3 separate regions of the Homo sapiens genome follow, and regions 1 and 2 are each linked to region 3. The links are contacts of gene promoters, found by promoter capture Hi-C in blood cells and fetal thymus (Javierre and others, 2016). All regions are on one chromosome and are shown on one strand. The core of a region is centred on a gene start or on the middle of the fragment in contact, and the rest is flanking DNA. Distances in the headings are between cores, read along the strand shown. Region 1 overlaps ZNF746 (zinc finger protein 746). Region 2 has its middle 3.7 kb from the start of ZNF746. Region 3 holds the start of ZNF786 (zinc finger protein 786).

Evidence for each region. Contacts are between HindIII fragments. The CHiCAGO score rates a contact against its expected background, and 5 or more counts as called.
Region 1: a contact is called between a fragment that was not itself captured here and the fragment with the promoter of ZNF786 in region 3, in 1 of 17 cell types (monocytes). The highest score is 5.3, in monocytes.
Region 2: a fragment that was not itself captured here is called in contact with the fragment with the promoter of ZNF786 in region 3 in 2 of 17 cell types (non-activated CD4 T cells and total B cells); the score reaches 5.6 in non-activated CD4 T cells.

The regions. Positions count from the first base shown.
Region 1 is chr7:149,481,577-149,485,006 of GRCh38, forward strand. The region is part of intron 4 of ZNF746 (zinc finger protein 746); the gene reads right to left. Among named protein-coding and RNA genes, the nearest start is that of ZNF746, 15 kb to the right of the region's middle. The HindIII fragment of the contact is 208 bases long and covers 1,207-1,414 here.
Region 2 is chr7:149,499,591-149,503,343 of GRCh38, forward strand. No RefSeq gene overlaps it. Among named protein-coding and RNA genes, the nearest start is that of ZNF746, 3.7 kb to the left of the region's middle. The HindIII fragment of the contact is 3,449 bases long and covers 1-3,337 here.
Region 3 is chr7:149,088,595-149,092,071 of GRCh38, forward strand. ZNF786 (zinc finger protein 786) reads right to left here and starts at 2,124. Exons shown (of 4, transcript NM_152411.4): 1 at 2,029-2,124. The coding sequence starts at 2,046. RefSeq lists silencers at 2,066-2,365, 2,486-2,975. The HindIII fragment of the contact is 38,912 bases long and covers 1-3,477 here.

The DNA of each region.
Region 1 (3,430 bases), core at 61-2,560, 390 kb after region 3:
AAGATATTTTCACACATATAAACACATATAAACTCATATACACACACAAACTGAGGGCTCATTACCATCAGACCCACAAAAAATAACTTCTAAAGGAAGAAAAAATTTCTAAAGATTCCTCTATAACAATAGAAATAGAATACATAACTGTCAAATTAATTTAAAATAACAATAGTTTGAAAAGGAAAATACCTAAATGAATAATTCCCAAAGGAGAGGCAGGAAAAATACAGAAAAGGCAGAACTAAAGATTAACAGCACAATTTAAGATGGTAAAAAGAATCCAAATAAACTAATAACCATAATCAATGTAAATGGTCTAGACCAGAGCTAAGAAGAAAAAAGAATGTGAACCACATATCTAATTTTAAGTACTCTGGTAGTCATGTTAAAAAAGTAAGAACAGGTGAAATAAATGTTAACAGTACATTTTATTTAGCCCAAGATATAAAAAATGTTACTTCAACGTATAATCAATATAAAATGATTTATATTATTTTATACATGCATATTTTGTACTCACGGCTTGTTTTTGTACACGGTTTTTGAAATACGGTATGTATTTTATCCTTACAGCACATTTCAAGTGCTCAGTAGCTACAGGTGGATAGTGGCTACTGTTTGGATATTTAAAAGGTAAAGGTAAAGATTTTCAGACTAAAACCAAACAAATCCCCCAGCTATCTGCTGTTTACAAGAGACATACCTAAACAGAAGGACGCAGAAAGCAATGTAAAAGAATGAAAGATGTACTAAGCCAGAACAATGTAAAGAAATGATGTAGCTATACCATATCACATGAAATAAACTTTGAAAGTAAAAATATTCATAGAAATAAAAAGAATTACTGCATAATAGTAAACTAACCAGGAAGATAAAGTAATTCTAAGGTTTTTTTTTTTTTTTGAGATGGAGCCTTGCTCTGCTGCACTGGCTGGAGTGCAATGGTGCAATCTCGGCTCACTACAACCTCCACTTGCCAGGTTAAAGCAGTTCTCCTGCCTCAGCCTCCCGAGTAGCTGGGATTACAGATGTGTGCCACCACGCCTGGCTATTTTTTATATCTTTAGTAGAGACAGAGTTTTACCATGTTGGCCAGGCTGGCCTCAAACTCCTGACCTCAGGTGATCCACTCGTCTCAGCCTCCCAAAGTGTTAGGATTACAGGCGTGAGCCACTACACCCAGCCAATAACTCTAATTTTTTAAGCTTATCATATAGCTTCAAAATAATAAAGCAAAACTGATAAAACTCTAGGGAGAAATGAACAAATCCATCTTTACAGTAGGGGATTTTGATATATCTCTCTGTAATTGATAAATCTAGCCAACTAAAGGTTATATAAAATTTGAGCAACTCTACTAACAAACCTGATTAAAGGGACCTAAGCAGATTCCAAACACAGAGAAAACACAAGCTTTTTAAGCTACAGAGCGTTAAGGAAAAATGAACACTTTCTAGGTCATAAAACAGACTTCAGCAAAATTTAAACGACTAGTATTTTACACACTGCATTTTCTAGCTACAACACAATTAAGTTTGAAATCAATAACTCCCATACATACTAAAATTTTAAAATATACCGCTTTCTAAATAATCTGAGTCTAAGAAAAAAATCACAATGAAAATTAGAAGGTATCTGGAACCCAATATTAATGAAAATATTATCTATCAAAATGTATGGGCTACAGCTACAATGGTACTTAGAGGAAATTTTATAGCCTTGTATGTTTATATTAAAAAAGATAACACAGGGGCTGGGCGCAGTGGCTCACACCTGTAATCCTAGCACTTTGGGAAGCTGAGGTGGATCACGAGGTCAGGAGATCGAGATGATCCTGGCCAACATGGTGAAACCCCATCCCTACTAAAAATACAAAAATTAGCTGGGTGTGGTGGCATGTGCCTGTAGTCCCAGCTACTCGGGAGGCTGAGGCAGGAGAATGGCTTGAACCCGGCAAGTGGAGATTGCAGTAAGCCAAGATCGCGCCACTGTACTCCAGCCTGGCGACAGAGCGAGACTCCGTGTAAAAAAATAAAAAAAAAAACAAAAACACAGGTCAAAAATTAATGGGTTAAGCGTCAATGCAAGACATTAGAAAATAAATAACATTTAAGAACCTTTTCAAAAGTAGAAGGAAATAATACATATAAGAGTATCATAAATTAATAAAAGAGAAGACAAAGATAGAATATAGTTAGTCAAAGTTGGTTATTTGAAGAGACTGTTAAACCAATTCACCTCTAGCAAGGTTATCAAGAGAATGGGAGAGACAGCACCAATAACCAATTGGAAGAATGAAAAAGGGAACATAATGATAAATGCAGCAGAGATTTAAAAGATATAGAGGATATTATGAATGTTATTCCAAGTAATTTGAAAACTCTGGGGAAATGGACAAATTCCTAGGAAAATTTCAACCTGCCAAAACTAAAGAAGAAATAGAAAACCTGAATAGTCCTGTAACTAAAATAAATTACATCGGTAGTAAAAAATCTTCCCCACAAAGAAAACTTAAGGCTCAGGTGGCCCCACTGGTGTTTTCTACTAAATGTTGAAGGAATAGATAATTCCAACATTACAAAAACTCTCTGAAAATTAAAAACAGAATGAATACATCATAGCTCATATTTTTAATACCGAAACCAGACAAAAACAGTCTGAGAAAAGAAAATTACAAGCCCATCTCATCCATGAACAAAGATTCAAAAATCCTAAACAAAATAATTAGCATACAGCAATGTTCATAAAGGATCATGACAAAGTTAGGTTTATTCCAAGACTGCAAGGTTGGTTCAACATTAGAAAGTAACATAATTTACCTTACTAGCAGGTTAAGGAGAAAAAAATGTATAATCATCTCAATGGATACCAAAAGAAATTATATAAAATTCAAGTCATTACTGTTAGAAACACCTAGCCAAACACAGACATAGGAAACTTCTTTAGCCAGATAAAGGATATTTGTAAACAAAATCTTTAGCAAATATTATACTCAATGTGAAAAGTTAAAAAGTGTCCTCTTTAAAATCATGAACCAATAGGACACCTGTTATCATCATTTCTATTTAAGGATTTTCTGGGAGTTCTCAGTCAACACAATAAAACAAGAAAAAAAACCCATAAATATTTAAAAAGAAAAAAATTATTACTCATAGATATGATTAACTTTTCAGAAAAACTGAGAATGATTAGACAATTAATAGAAAGGTTATTAGCATTAATGAAAATTTTAGTAGGGTTCCTAGATCGTTATCAATAAATGAAAGACAACTACATTTTTATATATTAATACTGTGAGGTTTTTGAGAAAGCCTATCAGTTACAATTTTTCTTCCTTATCAAGGGTCTTAACAAACACAGAAAGAAAACAAAAGAGGAAGACAGGTGAGGCTAATCTATTTTTATTACTGATAATTCAGGGCATAAT
Region 2 (3,753 bases), core at 363-2,862, 410 kb after region 3:
TTTTAACAAGTTCCTTGTAGGGGTTGAGGTAAGGGTGAAGCTGGGGCTCTGCAGACAGCCAAGTTAGGGTAATGATGACTTGCTCTGTCCTCCACTGAAGACAGGCATCTATTGCAGAGCATCTCTGGTGCTGGTTTTCCAGCCTCTATTTGTAAAAAGAACGAAGATAAACCTCCTTGGATTGATATATGAGGCTTCCAAAGCCTTTCCCTCCATTTTGGGCACAGGTGTCAAAAGCAGGCATGAGAGTTTCCACTCCTGTGCCTTTCCTCATGCTTTTCCCCTCTCCTCTTGCCCACCCGAAGTTCTCACACCTTTTCCAGACCAGCATATGCCCTAATTCTTCCAGTTAAGTCTCTCCATGCCAATCACGGCTGCAGCAAGCTCTGCATTGTCCCAACTCTAATAATTTTTATTCTCGGTGCCATTCATATGGCACTGAGAAAAAAATTACAATACAAGGTAGTAGTTCCTAACTCACCTCTTGGATTATAAGTTCCCTGAGAGCAGGGACTATATCTTATTTCTCTTGTCTCTCCTGCAGTGCCTAATACTGGGCAGGTTTAGGCAACATAAAGTAATGATTTAGTACAAGTCTTAATTGATTGCTCTGTGTGGTGTGATCAACTGTGGTCCAAAGAATCATCCCCTCCTCTGCTCTAATACTTCTGCAGCCCCTACCATCTCCACCTTCCTGCTGAGTATTCCTAGAAGAAAAATCATAAAGCATTTTCAACACACCCAGAAGGAGCCTGGAAGGGCTAGAGAACATGAGACCACATGTCAACTCAAGGTGTCAGGGAGGCAGGAAGTGTGTGGTTCATACTGCACATAGACTGTGTAGATGTAGGGACTATGGACCCATGCACCCCTATGAGTGCTTCCTATACTCCAGCAGGTACAGCAGAACAGGTGGACCTCTATTTTTCCAGCTGCTCCCTTAGGCCTGAGCTTTTCCCCTGGGACCAGGCACACAGCCTAAAAGTTCAGGCTTGGGGTTTTCAAAAAGACTGTGGTAATCATTGCTGCCCACTAAATATTTCCAGCTGGTTTCTCTTGAAGACCATGGCTGGATGGCACTTCCTGGTTTCTTCTGGCTGGGTTGGACCATGTGACAAGTTCTGGCTGATGTTTTTTCTTTCCCTCTACTATGGTAACCCAGCAATATTTGAGGAGGTGGGTGCTGTATTTGCCTGCATCCTGGAGGTGGGGGACATTGAGTAGACTCCCCAGCCATCCCATGATGAGCTACTTACAGCATGAACATGAAACTTTTTGTTGTAACATGGTTTGGGGGTTGCTTGTTCCACAGTTTAACCTAGCCTATCCTGACAGATACAAAGGCATGGTGAAAGTTGGCCAGGCATTGCAGCAGGCATCCTTGGGCTCCAGGTGGTGTCTGCTCGAGCTTAACTTCCCTTACATTGTCTGAGTGCTCTCACATTGAGCGTTACCCTGCAGCGGTTAGATGTGGTGAAGTGCTGGAGAACTTGCAGCTGGCCCTGGAGTCTCTCCCATGGAGCCAGTGCCAAGTTCCTGCCTCAAATCCCTCAGTGAAATTTGCAGATGCGGATGGTCAGGGCCATGGCTCTGAGAAGCTACCTCCTTTCCTTCTGCTGGGAGCTGGGAGACTCACAGTCCTCTGGGGTTGGCTGGCTGGAGGCCAGTGCCTCAAAAATATTCTATACCAGAGCCCTTGAGTACAGAGAAAAGTGAATGTATGTCCTGTGGGTCTGGACGCTGCCTGAAATGGCCCTTGGTGAGCCAGAAGGTGTGATAAATTGTCATACTTTAACAATCCATTAAATCTTGTCTCCTTTATAAAACTTCTGTGCTTGTTTTAATTTTAAAAGATTATTTTGATTTATTGACCAGAGTAAAAAATTTATTTGATGTTTCAAAACCCCTCTCTTGCTCCTGAAATGGGAACAATTCCCTCATCCGCCTCTCAGGGTGTGAGATGGGGGCTGCAGCTCACTTTGTCAGTGCCCCGCTGCTCAAACCTCTAGCGGGAGCATGTAGGCAGGCAGGCTGTGGGGCTTATCACAAGGACAGAGGGCTTTCTGTATCCTGGGGTTCTTGCCTTAGTGTGCCAGAAAAATTAGATCACGCGTGGGCTTGGGGGATGGGTGCAAGGCTTTTTATTAAGTGGTGGCAGCTCTCAGTGAGGTGGATGGAGAGGCCAGAAGGAGGATGGAGTGGGAAGGTGGCCTTTCCCTGGAGTCAGGCCACCCAGTGGCCGGGCCCTCCTCCGACTGGCCTCTGCTGAACTCCGTGTCGTCCCGTCATAGATGGCCTGCCGGCGTCTGCTGGTGTCTGCCCGTGTGTTCTTCTGCTGTTGAGTTCCTCTCGATGTCCAGCTGCTCGTGTCCGTGCCCACTAGGGTCTCAGGATGTTTAAAGGCACAGGATGGGGTGTGTGGCAGGCCAGGGTGGTCTTGGAAATGCCACATTTAGCCACAGAAACAGAAATACCTGTCCTCACCTAGGTCAGTGGGCACAGGCCTGAGGGTAGAGCCTTTGCCAGGGACCCTGCCTTTCTCTACCCAGCACTTTCCTGCCTCCCTCCTGTATCACTCCCACATCCCTCCTCACCCTGGACCTCCCTTTCAGGGGGTCCGTGCCTCCGTCTGAGAAGCATAGCTCCAGGCATCTCAGGTGTTGCTGAGTTTCCACCATGATGGCATCACCCTCTGCCAACCTGGAGGTAAGATCCTGATGTGGCATTAGAAAGCCAGGGGCAAGGTGGGCAAGTGGCAGATGTGTGGAGGAAGTTTCAGTGCCCTGGCATCCATGATTGCCTTTCAAGTTTTCTAGAAGCGTCCATAGCCTCAGTTATTCTGATATGGTGATGTTAAAACCTGCCTACACCTAGGGTGTTTATGACTGACAACAGCTTAGAGAGTGACCCGTCCCAGGGCCCTGGCATCTTCTCTGGGGTCAGAACTTTGAGCGACAGGAATGAACAACAGGGCATTCCAGACGCCCTCAGCAGAGTGCAAGTCTCTGCACCTGAGCTCTCCAGGGCAGGAGTGAGGTCACCTTGCGCCAGTGGAGGTGAGGTGGATGGTAAAAGAATATAGGAGGCCCTTCCATATTTGGAGCAAACTCCAAATATGGAAATATGGAAAAATCCAGACATAAGAAACAAGCATCAGAGTTTTGTTTTTAGATTCATTAAAAATTTTTAATAACTAAAGTTATTGAATTCTCCCATAACTAAAATCTCCACAGCTTTTGAAAATAGTGTTCTAGGTACAAAAATTAGATTTCTCAAGGAGTACTTACTGTGCAGAACATGGCCCACCCCAGCAATATTATTAATTATAATAGAAACAAGCTTATTACTCAGGTGCTGACTCATATTTACAAGAGATTTTGAAGTTTTATAGGTCTGACCTTTGAGTTGTCAATTTTTGAGGACCTCACAATAGTCTCTCATGGCTTTCAGAGTGGGGGAAGCCTGTCACATCAAAGCCTAGCCAGATGAAATGAAGAATATTTTATAGGGACACTGAGTCCTTTTGAGCTTGGCTAGGGACAAAACCCACTCAGTAGAAATTAGTCAACAAGTCTATACTGAGTACTTACTGGGTCCTCAGCCAGATTATATATGTGAAACGTATATAATCAAGGTGACAGTATTTTCTAAACAGAAAACTCACGGTTTTTAGTATAACAAAAGATCTTTATGTCATTTATTGGTGCTAAGAGATAGTCTGGGAGATGCAATTTGGACCTCAAATATAGAAAA
Region 3 (3,477 bases), core at 874-3,373:
CTTTTTTAATTTTTAGAAGTTTAAAAATCCAGAGAGTTACAGAGAAAACTATAAGCATCCTAGTATTCACCACTGACTTAACAAGTTTAACATTTTTCTTCAGAGTTCCTTTTAATGAAATAGAATGTGACCGGTGAAACTCAAGTTCTTGTGGTTCCTCTCTTCAATCATGTTCTGATATTGTCACATTCTCCTTCCTTTGTAAAGGCAAACATTATAAATAATATGGGAACTTTCCAGTTCATTTTAATACATATATGTATCTGTAAATATTCAGTATTACTTTGTGTCTTTTATACGTAAATACTTTATTATACTTGTATTCTTCCCTCAACATTTTGGGATCTGGCCCTGTTGAGTTTCTTTTTTTTTTTTTTTTGGAGACAGAGTCTTGCTCTGTCGCCCAGGCTGGAGTGCAGTGGCGCGATCTCGGCTCGCTGCAAGCTCCGCCTCCCGGGTTCTCCCGCCTCAGCCTCCCGAGCAGCTGGGACTACAGGCTCCCGCCCACACGCCCAGCTAATTTTTGTTTTTGTATTTTTAGTAGAGACGGGGTTTCACCGTGTTAGCTAGGATGGTCTCGATCTCCTGATCTCGTGATCCGCCCGCCTTGGCCTCCCAAAGTGCTGGGATTAGAGGCGTGAGCCACCACGCCCGGCCCTGTTGATCATATATGTAGCTAATTTATTTTAATTTTGTATAGTGTTCCACCGTCTGAATGTCACAAGTTTGTTTGTTTTTGAGATAGAGTCTCGCTCTGTCGCCCAGGCTGGAGTGCAGTGGCGCCATCTCAGTTCGCTGCAACCTCCACCTCCCGAGTTCAAGCAATTCTCCCTACCTCAGCCTCCCGAGGAGCTGGGATTACAGGCGTCCGCCACCACACTCAGCTAATTTTCGTATTTTTTAGTAGAGACAGTTTTTCGCCATGTTGGCCAGGCTGGTCTTGAACTCCTGACGTCAAGTGATCTGCCCACCTCGGCCTCTCAAAGTGCTGGGATTACAGGCGTAAACCACGGCGCCTGGCCTGAATGTCACAAGTTTTAAAATCCATTCTTTTACTCATTAATAATTTATTTTCAGGTCTGTGATTTGGCTGTTTATATCCTTTCCCCATATATATAGGTATGTATATATTTTTGGAGACGGAGTTTCGCTCTTGTTGCCCAGGCTGGAGTGCAATGGTGCAGTCTCGGCTCACTGCAACCTCCGTCTCCCGGGTTCAAACAATTCTCCTGCCTGAGCCTCCCGAGTAGCTGGGATTACAGGCGCCCGCCATCATGCCAGGCTAATTTTTTGTATTTTTAGTAGAGTTGGGGTTTCACCATGTTGGCCAGGCTGGTCTCGAACTCCCGACCTCACGTGATCCACCCGCCTCGGCCTCCCAAAGTGCTGGGATTACAGGCGTGAGCCACCGCGCCCGGCCTAATTCATTTAATAATCAGCAAAAATCCTCAACATTAAAGTTTACAAGATAAAAATACCCTCTAAACCTCGATTTTAAGAAACCACTAACTTAATTTTTTGTATCCTCTTCTACTCTTCCCAACGTATCATCTTACACTCAACCCAAATCACGCTAGACAATAAATTCTGACATTGAAGCCCCCGCCAAACACCATTTCAACCATTCGGAATCTTAAACTTTTTGGAACAGTTGTTCTGATTTCGGTGACTATGATGTAAAACTGGTTGACCTGTAACATCCACCTCTGGCCCCAAACCTTTCTATCCTTTCCACCGTCCGCTCCCCGTCCGCCCGGCATCCTCGCCCAGGCTCCGCCCCGCTCCTAGGTCGGCCTCGGTCCACGCTCGGCTTTGTCCAGGGGTTTGGCCACGGACAAGCCGCGGGAGCGGAGGCCACCTGCTCACCGCAGGGCCCGGAATCCACATCCCCAGCAGAAGCAGCCTGCAGACTCCGTCCTACCCGTGCACCGCGCGCACTCACGGGGACCCCAGGACACGGGCGAGCCCGGAACCCGAGGACCCACCACGACCCCGAAACCGGGCGTCCAAACAGGCTAGCCCGCTTACCCGAGGCGGCTCCGCCATGGTCCCCGCGGTCCCGCCCGGCCCTGGCAAACCCGACCGTCTCCGGCGGCTCCGCAGGAACCTGCCCTGCTGCGCACTGACTCCCCTCCGCTCCGCCCCAACCCGACTCCCACGCACAGCCCGGGTGGCCCCCAAACGCAGCGCCGGCCGGGCGCGGTGCATGCTGGGACCCGGCGCCCGGCCGCGGCTGCCGCTCAGTCCTACAGCGCCTCCTGCGGGAGGAAGAAGCGGCGCTGCCTGAGCGTCGGTCCTCAGAGGAGGGACCCAGGGGCCCGGGCGCCCTCAGAGCAGGCCGCAGCACGCCGGTCTTTGAGGGACCCTCGGATTCCCGGGATCTGGGGAGGGAAGCGGTCAGAGACAAGCTGAGGAGCTGGCCGGAGGGGAAACGGAGGGGCAGGACATGGAGAGATCAGGGACAGGGACAGGGAGAGATCAGGGACAGGGACAGGGAGACGCGCTCCACAGAAACCCAGACTGAGAGGCAGCGAGAGGGGAACCTCCGGTGCGGTTCCTCCCAAAGCCGCCCCCGAGACAGGCTTCGTCTGTGAGGGGGTCCCGGGAATCCAGCGAGGCCGGAAAGTGGGTGGGGGGCGCGCGCTGCCCGCGGTGGCCCGGGGCATCCGTCCCGCCGGGGGCGCGGAGGCCGTGGGGGCCCCATGCTTGTCCCGCCGGGGACGCGGAGGCGGGGTCCGCCCACCAGGTCCGGTCGCCGTGGGTCTAGAGCCCTCCGGGCTCCCCGGGCGGCCACGCTCCTTCCTTAGCAGAGAACGGCCTTGGGCAGAGACCCCATGCGGAAGCCACCCCGGCCTCAGGGCCGCCTGCAGGGACTCAGGGTGGCCCAAGGCTGCGGTCGGGCACCCCGGGCCCCGGCAGGAGACAGAGACAGAGTAGGAGGAGAAGACGGAGGAGGCCATGACACAGGGCGTGAGAAACACGAGAACGCAAGAACAGGGGAGAGGTGGGGAAACCAGGAAGAGACAGAAAGGAGAGAGGGCGAGGAAGGGGGTGGCGATTGTCTCCAGAAAATCAACCTCGCATTCTGTCTTAGTCATGTCTTAGGTGTCAGGCTGAAGTAGCAAAGGAAAAGTGTGTAGTTTGGAGAGGATGTGCATAAGAAATAAAATAGTCCCTGCGTAGGCTGAGGAGCATATACGCATCTGTGTTTGCCACAGAATCGTGAAATGTACATGCACCTTACTGTTTAACGTTTTTTATTTTTACAACTGTTATACAGTACAATTTTTTTTTTTTGGAGACAAAGTCTCACTCTTGTCACCCAGGCTGGAGTGCTGTGGCGCAATCTCGGCTCACTGCAACCTCTGTCTCCTGGATTCAAGCAATTCTCCTGCCTCAGCCTCCCGAGTAGCTGGGATTACAGGCATTTGCCACCACGCCCGGCTAATTTTTGTATTTTTAGTAGAGACGAGGTTT